3 separate regions of the Homo sapiens genome follow, and regions 1 and 3 are each linked to region 2. Evidence: promoter capture Hi-C in human tissues and cell types (Jung and others, 2019). All regions are on one chromosome and are shown on one strand. Each heading gives the region's core, a stretch centred on a gene start or on the middle of the fragment in contact. The rest is flanking DNA. Distances are from core to core; before and after follow the strand shown. Region 1 has its middle 38 kb from the start of LINC02857. Region 2 holds the start of MRAP2 (melanocortin 2 receptor accessory protein 2). Region 3 overlaps MRAP2 (melanocortin 2 receptor accessory protein 2).

Region 1 (3,273 bases), core at 185-2,684, 51 kb after region 2:
TCCCATAATTTTGTTAAAAAACTCCCCTTTTTGGTCAGGTTCTCACTTAGGTGAGAGTGTGACCAAAACTTAGGGCTTTTGTGTCACTCTTAGTTACTACCATTTTGGGTTTCTGGTCTCAGCATGTCATTTATAGGTTACAGTGCCCTCAGGGTCACACATTTCTTTCAGCTCTTGTCATTCCAGTTGGAGAGACCATTTGACTTTCTAGAGATGGCTGCATGCAAAAATTTAAATCTTTTAAGAGAATACAGTATATCAGGGAGACTACTATCATGAATATCGGAGCATAACACGAAGAGTTACCCAAGATCCCCATATCCAAACCACCTAAAATTAAATAGATCAAAGAATAAGCTAGATAAAGGGTCTGCCTACTTAACTAAGCAGTCTCTTCATTAATCCCCTACAGCTGAATCTCTGTAATACCTGATGTGATGTATTTCTCCACAGGCCACAAGTGCCAGCAGCTGCACAGACACTTCTCTGTTTAGCCAGTAAGTAATCTACAGCAATTCCATTATTTAGCATAACTTTCACAAGAGAATTTAAAGTCTGTTTTGCAACCATAGCCTTTACAATAGAATCTGCTATAGAGCTTATTATGAGGGATAAATTTCTAGTCACTGTCTCTTTTACCCCAAACCATGGTGGAAAAGGACCTAATAAATAATGCCCTTCTAGAAGAGTGAAGGCCTCCTGGCATTGTTCTCTTTAACCCATGATGTGGGTTAAGAAGAATGAACAAATGTGTTATTTCTGACTATGAGGCCACATATGTACCTTTAAAATTTCTTACCTTCATTGCGCCTCATCTTCCATCTATCAAGGTATAAGCTTATCCATGTATAAGGCTGGCTTCAAAATCCTTCACAAATCAAAGTATACACAATTAGTACACACAACAGACCCCCTTTTCACTTCTATTGTTCATAGAGGCATAAGCAAGGGAAAAATATTCAAAGTAAGAGTCTCATGATAGTAGAGAAGTCTTGATGCATGATCTTGGGAAAAAGCTGTTCATATCAAGGATGCAATCTTCTTCTGGGTAGAAACTTCCTTGGTTAGCTTTACCTTAAGGGTTCTAATGGGTATAGTTCCAAGGGTGTAGATGAAGCCGTCTCAGTTGTGAAATTATTAGCCCAAGGTTCAAGGTCCTGAAGTTTTGCTGCAGTGTGGATGACAAGGGCAGTCTTTCTCTGAGGTTCTCAGAAGATCCGATCTTCAGGTTCTAAATTATGAAGTGGTTGATGGTCCTCAATAAGTGAACCATGAAATGCTTTCTTTACCTGGTGAAAATACATGGTGGTATAATAATCTACTGTTATAATGCCAGCCCTCTTGCATGGGAAAGCTTTTATACAACCAGAAAACATGCATTGAAAATGACAACTGAATGAAATCCCTCTATAAATGTCTGAATGGCCCATAAAGTTGCCAAACGTACCTAAAGCTTTGTCTTCCAAGGAATATGGGTTTCACAAACCAAACATTGGTCATAAACTATTTTAGCAATTTAGAAATCACCACACCAATATATATTTAATTTGGATCATTTTATGTTTTCCATGATGAGTCACAGAATGCAAAACCTTTAATAACAAAAGTTTTGAGAACTCAGAAAGGACAAGGCAGCCCTCCTGGTTCTCCGTGAGCCCATGCTTAATGTTGGACTTATGTTCTCTTGAATACCAGTTGTTTATCCAATTTAGGTGCGTAGCACTGACAACTAATGGGTTGTCATAGGTAATTTGACTTAGACCATGGAGTTCATTTAAATTGTGTATCTAAACAATTTCAGTATTGGTTGATTTAGCATGAAAATCTGGCAAAGTATTTTCTTGGTATTCAATTAATTTTGTTCTACCTGGGTTAGTGGTTTTATAAACCAGTCAGCCTTTTCATTAAAGTTATAGGAATTCTTACCTGTATTCAAGAGTGCTTTTCAGGGTCCGTTCCATCCTTTCATAAACCTCCTAAAATATATCATATTCTAGGATTTTCAGTGCTTGTGAAGTTTTCAAAAACTGCATCAGAATTAAGCAATTAACTGTAGAAATGACTTTAAACAGTCATAAAAACACAATTGACATGGAAATTTGGTTATTTCTGTGATCTACAATAACTAACATAATACCTGATATGGTTTGGCTCTGTGTCCCCACCCTAATCTCATCTTGAATTGTACTCCAATAATTCCCATGTGTTGTGGGAGGGTCTCAGTGGGAGATAATTGAATCATGGGGGTGGTTTCCCCCATACTATTGTCATGGTAGTGAATACGTCTCACAAGATCTGATGGTTTTATCTGGGGTTTCCACTTTTGCATTTTCCTCATTCTCTGTTTGCCTGCTGCCATCCATGTAAGAAGGACTTGCTCCTTCTTGCCTTCCACCATGATTGTGAGGCTTCCCCAGCCATGTGGAGCTGTAAGTCCAATGAAACCTCTTTCTTTTGTAAATTGCCCAGTCTCAGGTATGTCTTTATCAGCAGCATGAAAATGGACTAATACAGTAACCATAATTATGATTGATAGTATATATTTAGTCATATTAGAATTTTAGAAATCCCATACAATTTTGGAACATATATTAACATTCGCTAAAATATAACCTGAAGAAAAGTAAACATTATTTTTTATTTTGACAATACTTCCCATGTAACTTAACATGTCAAATAATCCTGTTTACCTATCTTTTGGATGCTTCAGGGGCCCTCTGTAGTATCCCAAAGTTAGAGGTTGGAAAAGACAATTTTGAAGCTGAAATTTGATTTTGGGAGGCCTGTCAAATATGTTAAAGATTTCAAACATTTGATATTATAAAATAGAATTCCAGGTCACCATAAGTTATTTATTTTGCCAAAATAATAACTCAAAAACTTCAAAAAGGCAAAAACTTTTACTTATTGATAGAGGGAACATTTAGCTTTCCAATCCGTCTCTTGTCTTTCCCTTCTTTTTCCTGTAGTTTATTTAAAAGGCAAGCAAAAATATTTCGTTATCCTTTAACATTAGATGAAAATCTTGTTCAAGAGAGAAAGCCAAATTTCACCCTTGCATTAGTGTACTCTTAATGTCAACCCCAATCTTTAATAAAACTTTACAGACAAATCTCTCGAACCTTAATCAGTTTTTCTTACAATAGCTGCAAAGAAAATTAAATACCTAGGAACTAATTTAACCAAAGAAGTGAAATATTTCCATAATAAAAATTATAAAACACTGGTGAAAGAAATTGAGGAGGTGACACAAAAAAATGGAGAGATATTCCT
Region 2 (3,283 bases), core at 430-2,929:
ATACAGCATACCCTGATCTATATCCCAGTAGATTGCTAGAAAAGGGAAGGGAGTTGGTTTGGCGTAAGTATTTGTAAATGCTTCCCTAGGTAGTTTTGAGCTATCTTAAAGAATTTGTTCTAGAATGTTGCCAGGATTCAATGTTTCCCTCTTTTAAAAAGTCTCCTGGGTCCATTCTCATCTCTCATACCTGCACAAAGATGACTGTAACCGCTTTCACTACTCTAGGACGTCTGCCATTTGGGTTTTGAACAATCCAGTCCAGTTTCGGGCTTCGAGACCCTCTTTAAAGGGTTTAGGCTGGCCTCACTTTGAAAAGAAAGATACAGACTGGAAGCAACTCTTCCTTTTCCTATCACCTGTTAATATTATCTATTCTTCCATAAACACTGGATGATCTTCCTCATAAGAACGAAACTCCTTGTGGGTACCCCAGCTCACAGTGGCCTCTGGCTTTCCTGACCTTATCCTTGCAGGCCCTCGTCACTCTCCTGCACCTGTTCTTGTCTGTGTACCCCATGCAATGTACCTAAAGGAAACTAGACTCACAGTCCTAGCTTCCAGACCCCTACTCCCCACTATTACTTAACTGGGGCAGTCACCTTGGAAAACGTATTTAATATCGCAATCTAATTTTCTCTACCTGCAAACTGAAAATACTACTGTTTACTTTTGGGGTTTTCGTAAGAATTAATTTATGCATAAGAGTTCCCTTCTCTCGTCTCCCTGGACACATTCCCTCAAGCTTCCTTTGCCTTCAAAACACCAGAGTGTTTCACTGTTGTCAAACTAAATGCAGAGTAGTGGCTGAGATTCTGTGCCATCTAACATGCTGTGGAAACCACAACGCCTCCAAACAGGTTTCTGCAGAGACTACTCTTTGCCTTCCTCAATTAATTACACAGAAAGGATGGGAAAGGCACGGGGCACGGGGCGCGGGGCGGGCGGGGGGAGCGGGGGCGGGTTGCGGGGTGGGGCGGCGGGGAAAGTGTAAAACCCCTATTTCCCTCTAATCAGTAACACGACCTGCGAGCAGGCTCCCCAGTCCAAACAAAATGAATGAGCAACTGTCAAGCCAGGCATCATCTGAGAACCCTGCCCAGTGCATGGAGGCGCGCCCGGGGCCAGGAGCCAGCACATTTCCCCAGCCCAGGGGGGCTCTCTCAGTTGCAGGGCACCAAGGCGGCAGGAGGGCCGCAGCAAGGAAAGTTTTCTCACCAGCGGGAAAGGGTGTGCCTCGGCCGCTGGGGCCCAGCGGAGGGGAGGAAGCCCACCCAAGCCCCGAGCGCCGCCGCTTCCAGGCTTTTCGGACGCCCAGCGGCGTCCACACGCACATCAGCGGGCTGCCGGGAAGGTTTTAAACTTGGTGCTCTCCACGGGGTCCACACTCTTCCCGTGGGCGTCCTCACACCCCAATTCTCCTCCTCCCACCCCATTCTCTAGCCCCTCTAAACTAAAGACTGCCCCCAAACCCAAGCAAGCCCTGCCTTGACCAAAGCTGCACGCGCCCCGCACCCAGCGCCCGGGCTTTGCTCCGCCCTGGGCGCCCTGTCCCGCCCGTGGTTACCGGCTGGCTAGCCCCGGCCCGCGGGCTCGGCCCTGGTTCCGGCTCCTGGCTCCTCCGAGGTGCGCGAGCGCCGCCGCCGCCGCCGCCTCCCACCGCCCAGGGCCGGGCGAGTAGCTCCTAGATCCGAGGTGCGGCGGAGACGCGCGCTCCCGACCCGCAGCGGAGGCGGCGCGGGGCGCCGGAGCAGGGCTGCAGCGCGGGAGCCGCCTCCCCAGCGCGAGAGCCGCCTCCCCAGCGCGAGGCCGCCTTGGCCAAGAGGAGGTGAGCTTTGCAGATCCCTTTCCTGCTCACTTTGCCCCTCCGAGTCCGGGTCAGAGCCTGAGTCAGAGAATTCTTTGCCATCCCGGGCTCTGCAGTGGGTCCCTCGGGTCAACTTTGGGTAACAGGAGGAGCTCATTAGCTGAGCAAGAGGGAGTGGGGTATCATGAATCAAGGCTTATGAAAAATCGGCAGCATTGAGTTCAAGTTCAGTAAGGCCAGAGCCCCCCCATAATGTGCTGCTTAAATTACTACCTCGATTTTAGTTTCTCTTCCTGCCCACTGGTCCAGGTGTCAAAGGGCAGTCAGACGTTCAAACGGGGTCCCAAAGGGCTAGCACTGGGCCGGGAGTAGTTTCAGCATAGCAGGGCTGGCTCATCTCTTCCTCCCTTGAGTCCTTATTGCATGCCAGGCATTGATCTGGGAATACAGGTGCTTGGTGCTTGCATTCTACTAAAGAGACAGGCATAAACATAACAAATAACTAAAATACATAGTATGTGAGATAGTGATGAAGTGCGGTGGACAAAAAAGAAGGGAGGAAATGGGATAATGTTTGGAGGTAGGGGGTGCATTTTTAAATGGGATGGTCAAAGATGGCTTCACAGTGGAGTAAAGATCTAAAGGAGATGAGACAGAAAGAAGTCACGCTGGTATCTGGAGAGAAAGCACTTGCTGTGTGGCAGGCACTGAGATGTTCTTTACTGCACTAGTCATTTCTTTTACTACTCTCCATATGCCATATTAGACAGGTATTGCCACCATTTCCATTTTACTGATGAGAAACTGTAACTTAGGAAGGTTAAAGGAACTGCCCAAGGTCATATGCTAGTCAATAGAGGAGCTTGCCTTCAAGGTCAGGAAGCCTGGTGCCCCAGAACCATAGTTTAACCACCATTATACAGCAGCAGGGGAAATGCAGCACCCATGCAGGCTGGTGGCAGTGTGATGAACTCAAGCTGGTGGTGCCAAAAGAGGATTCCTGGAAATGACATCTCATCACTGATTTTTTTTTAAAAGCTCAGTTTCATTACCACTTGTAAAATGAAATATTTTGAACACCATTTTTCTTCTTCTTCTTTTTTTTAATTTTAAGTTCTGGGATACATGTGCAGAATGTACAGATTTGTTACATAGGTATACATGTGCCAGCGTGGTTTGCTGCATTTATCAACTTGTCATCTAGGTTTTAAGCCCCGCTTGCATTAGGTATTTGTCCTAATGCTCTTCCTCTCCTTGCCGCCCACCCCCGACAGGCCCCGGTGTATGATGTTCCCCTCCCTGTGTCCATGTGTTCTCACTGTTCAACTCCCACTTATGAGTGAGAACATGCTCATTTGGTTTTCTGTTCCTGTGTTAGTTTGCTGAGAATGGTGGTTTCCAGCTTCATCCATGTCCCTGCAAAGGACACAAACTCATCCTTTTTTATGGCTGCATAGTATTCTATGGTGTATGTGT
Region 3 (3,274 bases), core at 693-3,192, 58 kb before region 2:
AGCATGTGAAGCCACTGCCCAAGCGCTAGAGAAACTCCTCCTATACATGCCCTGATAAAACACTTATCTATGGAAAGGCCCTGTAAAACTGACTCACATACTACCCTCAGGGAGCAGCCTGCCCTTTTCCTTGTGCAGTGCTGACTTCCTTGTGTACAAGCTAAAATAAAGCTTTCTCTTTCTCTTTGCTGTTATGTCTGGTGATCTGTATTTCCATCCTGGAAGATTACAAGAACCCAGGGTGCTGATTACATCTCATGGCACTCCAGATAGAACCCTCATTTTAGGGTCCTGTGGGAGCAAATGGCACAGCCCAGACGACAGAGATGGCTGACCAGGCACAAACCAAGGCAGCTGCACCATTGTTTCACCCTGGTGCCTCGGTGAGTCAAGTTCCTACATAGGATAAGTCCCCATTCCCTTTTTCTTTCTCTCTCTCTATTTTTCTTGCCCTATTCTCTCTCTTTCTCTTTGCTCCTATGTTTGGTGATCTCTCTTGATGTCTATACTGGAAGATTACAAGAACCCAGGGCACTGATAACAACTTCAACTGAAATGGACAGAGTGAGGGCAAGATAAATGAAGGCTATCAGACTCCCAAAATTCTACATGCAGAAAAAAAGGCTGATAAAACTACTCAGCTAAAAACACATTGTACCTTTCAAGAAAAAGAAAAGATGATTCCAAGAGTGGAGCTTCAGGCCCAGAGAATGTAGCCAGAAGTCACAAAAGACTATTTCCAGGCCTTGCAGCTTAACAGTTTTCCCAGTTTGAAGGATTTGTTATTTTGGGGACTGATGATTCATTTTTTCCTTCCATTTTCTCCTTTTTGGAATGGGAATACGGTTGATCCTTGAACAACATAGGGTTGAACTGCACGTGTCCACTTGTATGCAGATTTTTTTTCAACCAAATGGGGATTGAAAATACAGTATTCTTGGGATGCGAAACCCACCTATACGGAGAGCTAATTTTCATATACACGGGTTCTGCAGGACCTACTGTGGAACTTAAGTATGCTAGGATTTTGGTGTATACAGGGGGCCTGGAACCAATCCCCTGCATATACTGAAAGACAACTATTAGTAACTAGTATCTTATGTCGGTCACATCATTGTATTTTGGGAGAAAATAACTTATTTTCTAGTTTTACAGGTCCACAGATGGAGAGTTTTTCCCCAGGATGAATCATACCCAGGATCTCACTAATACTGAAATTAGATGGTTAAGATAATAAGATTTGGGACTTTTAAGCTGATAAGATTTAGGTAATACATGTGACTTTGAATTGATTCTATAATGAATTGAGACTGTGGAGTATATTGGGATGGGGTGTATGTATTGTGCATATAGAATGGATATAAACCTTTGGGGCCAAAGGGAAGACTAGCAGGCTAATGGTTCCCCAAGCATGTCCACATCCTAATCCCTGAAACCTGTCAATATGTAGCCTTATGTGGCAAAAGGCACACACTTTACAGATGTGATTAAATGAAGGATCTCAAGATGGGGAGATCATCTTAGGTAACCCAATGTAATCACAAAGGTCCTTATAAGAGAGAAGCAGGATGGTTAAAGACAGAGATGTAAAGTGGAAGAAGAGGAGCCACAGAGTGGGAGCAACCCCTGGAAGATAGAAAAGGCAAGAAAACTGATTAATCCTGAGAGCCTCCAGATGGAATGCTGCTGTGCTAACACCTTGATTTTAGCCCACTGAAACTGATTTTAGACTTGTCTACTCTAGAACTGGAAGAGAATAAATTTGTGTTGCTCTAAGTCACTAAATTTGTGGTAATTCGTTACAACAGCAGTAGGAAACAAACTCAGGAACCAACATGAGCATGAAGCATATGTGGCCTGCTGTGCTGTAATGAAGATTTTTGTCTCTGACCCAAGACTCTTGTGTCTTCTGGCAGCATCCATGAGACTATGGCAAGCTGATTTGCAGAAGGGGCAAAATCTTGGACCATTCACAGTTCTTAACATTTAGTTCATAAAAATGATGATATAGTCATGGGTATTTGTCTGACGTTTAAGTATCTTTCAATCTTCTGATCAATAAATCTACTTCTAAATAAGATACCACTTAAGTAGCTGTGAACTTTAATAATAGCCCATGATTTATATTTCATTAAATAAATTATGAATAATCATACTCATATTAGAAGTTAAACTCTGGCCAGGCATGGTGGCTCATACCTGCAATCCCAGCACTTTGGGAGGCCAAGGCAGGCAGATAACTTGAGGTCAGGAGTTCGAGACCAGCCTGGCCAACATATAGTGAAATCTCGTCTCTACTAAAAAATACAAAAATTAGCTAGGCGTGGTGGCACGTGCCTGTAGTCCCAGCAACTTGGGAAGCTGAGGCAGGAGAATCACTTGAACCCAGGAGGGGAGGCTGCAGTGAGCCATCCAGCCTGGGCGACAGAGCAAGACTCCGTCTCTCAAAAAAAAAAAAAAAAAAAAAAAGTTAACAAACTCAGCATTCTTTAATACTCTTGCTCTCTTGCATAAAAAATTCATGAAAATAGCATCTATTTATAAAAAATATGTTAAAGTAGCTTTAATTACAAAAAAATTCCATGCTTTGTTTTACTATTTAGAGTCTTAAAGAATGATATTTTCTTTAAAATACACAATAGAAAAGGGATTTCTTTTAGCGAAATAATCCCTAAATCTCATGCATGGCTCAGATCACCAGAATCCCAGAGATGGTACAGTCAGCACTGCCTACTCCAAGAAGTTAGGAGACATTATAAACATGGTACAACTTTTTGGGAAACAAAAAATTGGATGTGTGAAAATAAAGAACCAGAGGAAATTTCTGTGCAGTCAAATGCATTTATTTTGTAGCTTAAGCAAGACAGGTGGTGAACAAATTCATAATGAAAATGCCACCCAGAGGTTAACAGCTTGCCATGCATGCAACTGTGTGCGCAAAATCAAGTTGTTTTAATACCAGTGTGCAGCTTTGATTCCTCCATGAAATTAAAGCTGTGTTGCTCACTTGTTTACATAACTCAGGCCACCCTGAATATCTGCTAGTGGGGAATTTACAACCCACTGACCATCTCAGCTCAAAGCCAGATGACTATCACCTACACATCTGCCAAGGTAATAGCATGGCAAATAGTATTTTTCTTGTTCTGTAGCCAATGGCACAGATACACCAACACAGAGATACCCAGAAGGCACCTCCTCTCATTCAGCTGACAAGCTTCCTAACATTTCTTGGGGACAAGAGTACCATACATGTACTACGAATTGGTACTTA

Evidence for each region. Contacts are between HindIII fragments. The study calls those that stand out against the background at their distance.
Region 1: a fragment that was not itself captured here is called in contact with the fragment with the promoter of MRAP2 in region 2 in 1 of the 25 tissues and cell types used here (liver).
Region 3: a contact is called between a fragment that was not itself captured here and the fragment with the promoter of MRAP2 in region 2, in 4 of the 25 tissues and cell types used here (aorta, hippocampus, neural progenitor cells and 1 more).

The regions. Positions count from the first base shown.
Region 1 is chr6:83,981,283-83,984,555 of GRCh38, reverse strand. No RefSeq gene overlaps it. Among named protein-coding and RNA genes, the nearest start is that of LINC02857, 38 kb to the left of the region's middle. The HindIII fragment of the contact is 3,785 bases long and covers 1-3,273 here.
Region 2 is chr6:84,032,168-84,035,450 of GRCh38, reverse strand. It overlaps MRAP2 (melanocortin 2 receptor accessory protein 2), which reads right to left and starts at 1,679. Exons shown (of 4, transcript NM_138409.4): 1 at 1,568-1,679. The HindIII fragment of the contact is 8,786 bases long and covers 1-3,283 here.
Region 3 is chr6:84,090,435-84,093,708 of GRCh38, reverse strand. It overlaps MRAP2 (melanocortin 2 receptor accessory protein 2), which reads right to left. Exons shown (of 4, transcript NM_138409.4): 4 at 2,828-3,274. Among named protein-coding and RNA genes, the nearest start is that of MRAP2, 58 kb to the right of the region's middle. The HindIII fragment of the contact is 4,552 bases long and covers 1-3,274 here.